2 separate regions of the Homo sapiens genome follow, and region 2 is linked to region 1. The links are contacts of gene promoters, found by promoter capture Hi-C in blood cells and fetal thymus (Javierre and others, 2016). All regions are on one chromosome and are shown on one strand. The core of a region is centred on a gene start or on the middle of the fragment in contact, and the rest is flanking DNA. Distances in the headings are between cores, read along the strand shown. Region 1 holds the start of CAVIN2-AS1 (CAVIN2 and TMEFF2 antisense RNA 1). Region 2 overlaps TMEFF2 (transmembrane protein with EGF like and two follistatin like domains 2).

What was found. The method cuts DNA at HindIII sites, captures the fragments that hold promoters and counts their contacts. A CHiCAGO score of 5 or more calls a contact.
Region 2: a contact is called between a fragment that was not itself captured here and the fragment with the promoter of CAVIN2-AS1 in region 1, in 1 of 17 cell types (megakaryocytes). The highest score is 5.6, in megakaryocytes.

What each region holds. Positions count from the first base shown.
Region 1 is chr2:191,844,547-191,849,023 of GRCh38, reverse strand. It overlaps CAVIN2-AS1 (CAVIN2 and TMEFF2 antisense RNA 1), which reads right to left and starts at 2,536. Exons shown (of 4, transcript NR_187184.1): 1 at 2,253-2,536. It overlaps CAVIN2 (caveolae associated protein 2), which reads left to right and starts at 1,936. Exons shown (of 2, transcript NM_004657.6): 1 at 1,936-2,581. The coding sequence starts at 2,099. RefSeq lists an enhancer at 1,723-2,231. The HindIII fragment of the contact is 13,325 bases long and covers 1-4,477 here.
Region 2 is chr2:192,055,618-192,060,094 of GRCh38, reverse strand. It overlaps TMEFF2 (transmembrane protein with EGF like and two follistatin like domains 2), which reads left to right. Exons shown (of 10, transcript NM_016192.4): 5 at 2,320-2,416. CAVIN2-AS1 (CAVIN2 and TMEFF2 antisense RNA 1) reads right to left here. Exons shown (of 4, transcript NR_187184.1): 4 at 1-4,477. Among named protein-coding and RNA genes, the nearest start is that of TMEFF2, 140 kb to the left of the region's middle. The HindIII fragment of the contact is 1,040 bases long and covers 2,205-3,244 here.

The DNA of each region.
Region 1 (4,477 bases), core at 1,287-3,786:
GCTGATTATACAATATCCAACAATGCAATGCAAAATCAGCGCAAATCAATGCAAAATCAGGGTGAAGTGATTATAATGTGAAATCGCAAATTTTGCAAAATATGTAGGAAATCATGAAGTTGATGAAGGTAATGTTAGAGAAGCCCTTGAATCATGGGCAACTCCTCTGACAAATGAGAATCTGCAGCTGGAATAGTTAACATTAACATTTGAAGAAGAACAAATCTACATGGATGATGGCACAATAAGTGCTTCAAAAAGAAATGATTTGAATGTCAAAATTTAAGAGAGGCTCTTGGAAAATTGATGAAGCCCTCAAATATTTTTGAAATAGTGACACTCTATGATTTGCCCACAAAAGTCAAATGTAAAAGGACGTCGTGTCATGATATCATATAATTTTGTTAGAAAATTATGCTTCTTAAAATCAACACTTGATTCATCCTTTATTCTAATATTTAACACATTTTTGACCAACTAAATTTTATTAAATATAAGGTAAATTAATTTTAATAATGTTCTTACTTTTTTAAAAGATAACATCTCAACCAAACCTTCTTTTCACCTTTTTTGGTCTCTATTTTTAAAGCATTTGCTTTAAGTGGGTTTTGGTGGCACCAATTATCTGAAGAAATTGAAGGCCTCTGTAAATATCTTTAGTTCATCTTCCTAACTGGCAGCTATACTCATTGAGAGCAGGGTCTCCGTCATGCTTTGCCAATGTCTTCTGGATAGTGCTTCATGCATATAGCAGAAGGCAGAGATTCAACCAACGTGATAACCAATGGCCTGCTGATTGATTGGCTTACATGTAGGTGTTACTATTGACGAATGGCATTGTTCCATTATCAATCCCTGACCTGGTATGAGCTGGCATTTGTTCGTCTCAAAATTGTTCATAGAAGGCCTATTACAAACTTCCTGCTGAAAGCACTTTCAAAGGCTGGATACGTTTAAAATCAACTCAAGCATGTAAAGCCATTTTAGGAAAATAAGCCCCACATCCCAAGGTTCAGCTGAGGAGGGCCACATTTGAGAACAGGTGTGCCACTTCACTGAGCAGGAATTTTAAAATGTCAAACATTAGAACCACTTGAGAAACTCCAACTCAGCCTGCCAACAGACACTTCTGGGCACGTGTCAATAAATGCCTTGCAGAGATGGGCATTTGAGAAAGTCTCTCCTCACCAACTCAAAGTTAGTTAAAACAAATCATCACGGTAGGTTCTTAAAAAGACCACATTTTATTTTTCCTCAGTCTCACTTCTTGAAAAAAACAATCATTTTTTTAAATGTGGTCATTCAAAAAGTTTCCATATATTACATAACAGTCATAACAGCAGTATTACTTTTTTTAAATATCCCTGAAGTTCAATCTCTTTTAACTTATTTTGTATCTGCAACTGCAAGAGTAATAAGAACTGAGCTGTTTTCCTTATCATTATCAGAGTTAGTCCCATTCCTTTGCAAATGAGAAACTAATAATACAAACTTGGCTGCAGTACCCTTTAAACTCTATGCCTCCCAGTAGGACACCCGGTGTTCTGCAACCCATCAGTCAGTTCTAGGGCAAATGCAAACAATACTTTCCGTTACAATAACTTGTATCCAGGAAAAAGAAACAGGCACCCTGTTGCATCTGCAGCATAGCAGCCAGAGAAAAGTTTACCAGCTTTAGCCAATTGGAAGCTGTGGAGCTGGGCCAAGTTAGCATGTTTTTCTCCGCCTCTAGATGAAGTCATGATTGAAATATGACATTGAAAGGGAAGGGGAACAGGAAAGAAAAGCTAAACCTGCAACAAAGTGTCCTGTGCCCAGAACGCGGTTAGGAAGTGTGTGCATACGTCTGAACCCTAAATGGTTCTCAGTTCTGTAAACTTCTCCTCCCACTGGGTGGAGTAGGGCCTTTAAGAGCAGCTGGAATGCAGTTCCCCTGATCAGCGTAGCCAGTTGTTGCCTGTCTGAACCTCTGCCAGTCCTGGAGACTGGTGCCCTGAGCTCCAACCAGCGGGCCTCATCCTACACCCTCACCACCGCAACTTCTCACCCGAGCAAGAAGCAGCTCCCAGAGAGAAAGAACGTTCCCACCTGCCTAGCCATGGGAGAGGACGCTGCACAGGCCGAAAAGTTCCAGCACCCTGGGTCTGACATGCGGCAGGAAAAGCCCTCGAGCCCCAGCCCGATGCCTTCCTCCACACCAAGCCCCAGCCTGAACCTAGGGAACACAGAGGAGGCCATCCGGGACAACTCACAGGTGAACGCAGTCACGGTGCTCACGCTCCTGGACAAGCTGGTGAACATGCTAGACGCTGTGCAGGAGAACCAGCACAAGATGGAGCAGCGACAGATCAGTTTGGAGGGCTCCGTGAAGGGCATCCAGAATGACCTCACCAAGCTCTCCAAGTACCAGGCCTCCACCAGCAACACGGTGAGCAAGCTGCTGGAGAAGTCCCGCAAGGTCAGCGCCCACACGCGCGCGGTCAAAGAGCGCATGGATAGGCAGTGCGCACAGGTGAAGCGGCTGGAGAACAACCACGCCCAGCTCCTCCGACGCAACCATTTCAAAGTGCTCATCTTCCAGGTCAGTTCCCCCTATGCCTCCTTACAGGCGGGCTGGAACTCCTTATCATTCTTGATCTCGCTCATCCTGGCTCTCACAGCCATTTTTACATTTGTCCTGCCTGTCAGGGATCACACATACAAGGCACTGTCCCCTGTCTGCCTGCGGAAAGCAAATGTGAAATCTTCACACAGGGGTGGGAATTTCCCAGGTCACTACAGACTAATCCAAAGAAGATGTCCCCGGGCTTAGTAGGCCCCGGGTCATTTGTCAGGGAGCACCTGGATGCACTCTGTACAGGTTGGGAAGATGTGCAGGTGCGTGCACCCTAGTCAAATTCATTTGTCTCTTTGCATTAGGAGCTTAGGGCTCTGGCTGCAGCTGTTAGCTGGACAGGGCAAATTAATTCAGTGGCTGTTCATTAACTCTTAGTGGAAATGAAGTGATCATGTGAGGTATTTTGTGGTTTTTTTAACCAAAAAGTCAAACTATCCCTTTATACAAAGGCTATCAACGTTTTGGGGACCAATCAAATAGAGGATTGATTCCATTAGAGTTAGCCTTGTTCTTTTAAGACTTTTTTGGGGCAAAGCAATCTTGTGGAGTTCTTTTCTAGCAAATGCACTAGAAAAAGAGAGTACAAACACACTAGACGTGCCTCTCCTTGTTCAGAGAGACCACAACTGTTAAGTAAAATAAAAGGAGTGTTATCAGTTATAGTCACAAAGGCTAGTCTTAAATGTTTCTCCTTCAAACGGTTGCCTTAGAATAAAAAGGCCACTTAATTTTTTTTAATGCATCAATGATGCAATTAATGTAGCAAGAGGCTATCTGGGGACAGGGAGATTGCGTGGGGCTCTTGTTCCGCCAAGTGGTGGGCATTTGTGAATCCCAGGGCAGCCCTGCCTAATGCTGGAAGCCCTTCCGCCCAGTGGAATCCAGCCAGCACAGAGCCCAGGAAGCGATTGCCATCCTCGCTCCAGGGCTGTCTCGTTGTGACCATATGAATAGGAGAGGATTTCAAAGCCATGGAGGGGAGAGGCTATAACCAACAGTTTGATTGTGAAAGGCACACAGGGAAAGCCTTCATCTCCCAAGAGAGATTTAGAAATTGGGATTTAAACCGAGGGAGTCTTCTTTTTCAAAATGAATCTGCTCTGCCAAGTTAGAAGCCTTCCTACCCCCATAAAAGGAAAGACTCATCTCGCTGCTTTTTTGTCCTCCTCAAATTGCACTTGAATATTGTAAAGGTTTAGGGAGCCTATGTCCTCCTCTACCTTGCAGGCTTTTGCAGCTGAAAACTTTTCAGCTTTTAATGCAAATGCAGTAGCTTTTCATGCACCAGATGAATTGAAAAGAGATACTGTAACTGGGCCTTTCTTAAGCCATATGAGATCCTTACTTTATTAGCCTAAGAGATATTAGAAATCTCAGCTCTCAAGCCATTTCTAAATTAAATACTGATCTCCAAACAAAACCAAACATGTACAGACCTGTTTAAGTCTGAGACACCAAAGGAAATTTTCCTGCTTCCAGTATGAATCAGGCAAATTATCTCTTGTCCCATCCCTCAGTTAAGGAGGAGGAAAAAAGTATTTATCTTGTAGAGGAAAGTCACAATTCGTCAGGATTGGGTTTTGTTTTGTTTTGTCATGGATGTTCTGCAGATGTTGGGGGGAGGGATGGAGAGGATATGCTAGTAGAAATTCAGGAGAATTATAAATCTGACATTAAAAAAAAACTGCTTGGGAACTTAAAGGCATATGCTGTTGTGAGGGTCTGACATGGTCTCCTGTTTTGTCACATTGAATTGACAGGTGTGAAATTGCAGCCAGATATGGTAGAAATTCTCCATATAGTGAGTAAAAGCTGAAACAGGGGTGCTCAAGACCAAACTGGAAGCTAAGAATATCCACA
Region 2 (4,477 bases), core at 1,475-3,974, 210 kb before region 1:
ATTCAGTATCTCCAAGGATATCTCAGGGCATTTTTATTAAAAAAAAAAAAATATGATCCACGAAAGCCTCTGAATCAGACCCTATTTAAGAACCACTGGTATAAAAAGTTAAATGAAAGTTGTGCACCGATTAAGTCATTTGTTTGTTTACTGTTATACAAAGGTGCAAACCAATGCTTCCAGTAATATGGAAATACTTTATTTTATATTTCTTTGTGGGTGACTTCATAGAAAGGCACTTTATTCACACAATACTTATTGATGGGGGTATTCCTACTGCTTCTTTTGAATTTACTTCTCCTTATCAGAGAATTTCCAAACATCTCCATTTTACCAATAATTGCCCTTTTATAGAAATGTAATATGACTTCTGGTAGAAATATTATTATTAGTCCTGCTGAGATAGCAAAATTTATCCCTGGATGACCTCCAGTCAATCCCTTACCAAAGATCTCAACTGCTGAAGAAAATGGGGCTGTCTCTAAGTGGCCATCACTGTTCATTAAGGTCCTTGCCATTGTGTTCTTATCTTTCCTGAGTAATGGGAAGCTTTAGTCTGGAAGTTGCTAATCTTGCTAACACTAAAAGGCTTTCTCCCATTAGCAGCTTCTGTGTTGCATTAATAATCAGAAAGTAATAAAGAGACCGACCTCAGCTGTTCGGTCTCCCCTGAGATGAGGCCCCAGCTTCCCTCTTATCCCCATGGTCCACTCTAATGGTCTTGCCTATATTAAAGTAATAGAGTGAATAATAAGATAAGTGCTGTCTATTTTATCAGAGTCTAAAATTCCTTCTTCTTTTTGGGGAGGACACCTTTTTTTTTTTTTAAGACATCCAAATTGAAAACTATACCATCAATACTTTTGCAATTGAAATTGACCTGTTTAATTCATATTGTTTTAAAAATGTAAGCGTTGACTATCAAGCACAGGAAAAAAATGTTTTAGAAAAAATAAATCCCTCCACCTTTCTTGGAAGAGTTATAAAACAGATAACTCTCCTAGGGATGTCTTCTTGTCCTTTTTTGAGTAAATCAAATTACTCATCTGAACAGCAGTAAACTAAAGAAAACTAAAGATCTTTGATTTTATAAGTATGAAAAACTTGTCAATAAACAAAAAAGAAATGAAGAGAAAATAACATATTAAAACTAAATAAGTAAGATTGGATTTGACAGGTTCAAGGTGCATGTTAATAAGTTGTCTTTGTTGTTTAAAATGTTCATAAAGACAGGAACTAATGCTGGGATTAATTGCTTATGTTCTTTTTCTGTTGAAAATGTTCTTTTGCAGAAGTGCACTTCTTAAAGGTTCCCTTGATTTAAACATCTGTTTTTAAATGTATATGATCTGTGTATGGAATTATATTATCTATGCGGTAGTTAGTTGATTGTAATTTTTCATTTTAAAATAAAACTACTTTTTCTTTCAACTATATATTTTTAACTGGGAAAACAGGTAATTCACCTTGAAAGTGTTGCTCATTCCTTGTACTCAAATACTAGAAATTTTTTCTCAATTTACACTGTTGTATCCTGATTTTGAAAGACTAACTTTATAATTAGGTGATATATTGCCTATTTTTGCACTTGTAATTTAGAGGAAAAAAGGACCAATATCAATCATCATTATCAGTGACTAAACAGTGACTCAATGTATTTTTTTAAAATAAAATATATGTTCATAACCCTCTAACAATGAATCACTGTGATTAGCTCTATGCAATACTTATGTAAGATTCAGTAAATGACAGTAAAAAACAACTAAAAACTATTTTCTAAAAACTTATAATCAACATACTTTTTCTTATAAGTACTTAACAGTTTGAGGGGAAAAATGGGGGCATTATCTAATAAATCAGGGATGCTCATCTAAATTTTTAAAAATTATACATGAAAACTTTCTTTGAACGAAAAAGTCCATAATCTGGAAATAAGAAAATGCTAAATATGTTTCAGTAAAATAGACAGTAGATCTCTCCCTCAGAGAGGTGAAAATTTAACTCCCTTTTAACTAAATAACTCTTTCATATGGTCTATTAGGCAAATAATTTTGATGAATCCAATAAACTCACATGCTTTTTGTTTTATTTAGCATGCAAAATGCAAACGTGTTCACCACATACCAATGGGAAACATATTATTGTTAGAGTTGTCTTTAAATTGGAGGAAAAAAAAGAGTTGCTTTTGACATTCTTATGAAGCTTCAATAGCAGACAGGTCCATTGGGAAAGTAGCAGCTTTAATTAAAGAATTGTCCTGGAGTTGTAGATATAATGCACAATTACCTGAATTCCTTTTACTGTTTTTCTGTCCTACAGTCCATGAAGGCTCTGGAGAAACTAGTCAAAAGGAGACATCCACCTGTGATATTTGCCAGTTTGGTGCAGAATGTGACGAAGATGCCGAGGATGTCTGGTAATATGCTGTTTTTATTCTTTTAGACAAAATAATGACAGTGATTAATTTCTTTTTAACACCATCAACCATTCTGCAACAGAAGACATTGTCTGCATTTTTATTTTCTTATTCAGTTCCCAAGTGAAAAAAAAAATGAGGGCAAGGAATTTCTGGAACTGGATTAAGAGGTGGGCCAGCCAAGCAGCTATCCATGGCATTACTTGATAAGGCACACTAAAATATCATTGAAGCCCCCCAAAACTGTCAATGTTAGGATATAGAGGGAAAAAAAAGTCTTATTTACTAGAATATCTTTGAAAAAGTATCATCAGAGCCAGGTGTGATGGCTCAGGCCTGTACTCCCAGCAGGCCTGTACTCCCAGCACTTTGGGAGGCCAAGGCAGGAGGATCGCTTGAGGCCAGATGTTTGAGATCAGCCTGGGCACAAAGTGAGACCCACATCTCCATAAAAAAAAATAATAATAATTAGCTGGGTATGGTCACACTAGCCTGTAGTCCCAGGTACTCAGGAGGCTGAGGAGGGAGGAACACTTGAGCACAGGAGGTTAAGGCTACAGTGATCTGTGATCATGCCATTGCATTCCAGCCTGGGCCACAGAGTGAGACTTTATCTCAAGATTTTTAAAAGGCATCATCAGGCAGCAATAGATGATCAGACTTAGTCTGTTTGGGTTTCTATAACAAAATACCATAAACTGGGTAGCTTATAAACAAAAGAAATTTATTCCTCACCATTATGAAGGCTGAGAAGTCCAAGATCAAGGCAGATTTAGTGTCTGATAAGAGCTCACTTTCTCTTAAAATAGCCTTCTTCTTACTGAAGCTTCACATGGCAAAAAGGGCAAGGGAGGTCTGTGGAGCCTGTTTTATAAGGGCACTAATCCCATTCATGAAGGCTTCACCCCCATAACCTAATCGCCTCCCAAAGGTCCTACCTCCCAATACTATCATCTTGGGGGTTAGGATTTCACCATATGAATCTGGGGAGGGGGACAGCAACATTCAGATCATACCAGTTGCTAATCTGACTTCTAAGATGATGGAGTAACTACTCTTTTAAAGATATGTTCATCAGATAATGAATAATACTTATTATTTTGAATGGGTGCCAACATTTTAGCTTTCTACTGTATTCGTCCCACCTTAAGCACATTGAAAAGTGAATAACTCAAACTTCTGAGGGAGTTCTTTGTGTCATGATAATGAAAAGCAGCAGCCTTTTTTTATTCCTCTCCTATTCTCTCTTCTGCTCCTCCCCTCCTCCTCTTCCTCTTCTTCCTCTTCCACTTCCTCTTCTTCTCCTCCTCCTCCTTTCCCTCCCTGTCTTTCCCCTTCTCCTCTTCTTTTCCTTCTCCTTTGTCTTCATCTTCTTCCTATTATTATTATTGCTATTATTTCTCTCTTTTTCTTTTTTACATATACCTCACCCCTTTCAGGAAAACATCTGGCTGCTCTTTATTTTCTGCAGTATGTAGACTGTGCTTGCCTAGAGCAGTTAACCATCATTTTGATCAAACTTTTGTGAGTAGAGGGGAAAATTCATCTAAGGAAAATGAAGAAAAAAAATTAAGACAAGATTATGTGGCAGTAGTAAAACAGTCTGCACTTAAAATATTTTTTAAGTGAAGATTCTATCTGAGCAAATGGTGGTTCTTAGGGTAAACTACGTACTTACAAGTAAACACTGCCTTTGAATAGCCAAGTGAAATAAACATCTATTACTAAAATCAGACAGCAGTAGAGTTTTCATGCCTGTCAAACACTTCTAGCCAATGGGCAGCTAGGAGCCGAGTGAGAGAGTCTATGCACTGGTTTGACCATCTTGAGGTAAACAAATGTATGTTTTTTGTTTTTTATTGAGACAGAGTCTCGCTTCTTTTTTTTTTTTTTTTTTTTTTTTTGAGATGGAGTCTCACTCTGTCGCCCAGGCTAGAGTGCAGTGGCACGATCTCAACTCACTGCAACCTCCGCCTCCCGGGTTCAAGAGATTCTTCTGTCTCAGCCTCCTGAGTAGCTGGGATTACAGGTGCGCACCACCATGCCCGGCTAATTTTTGTA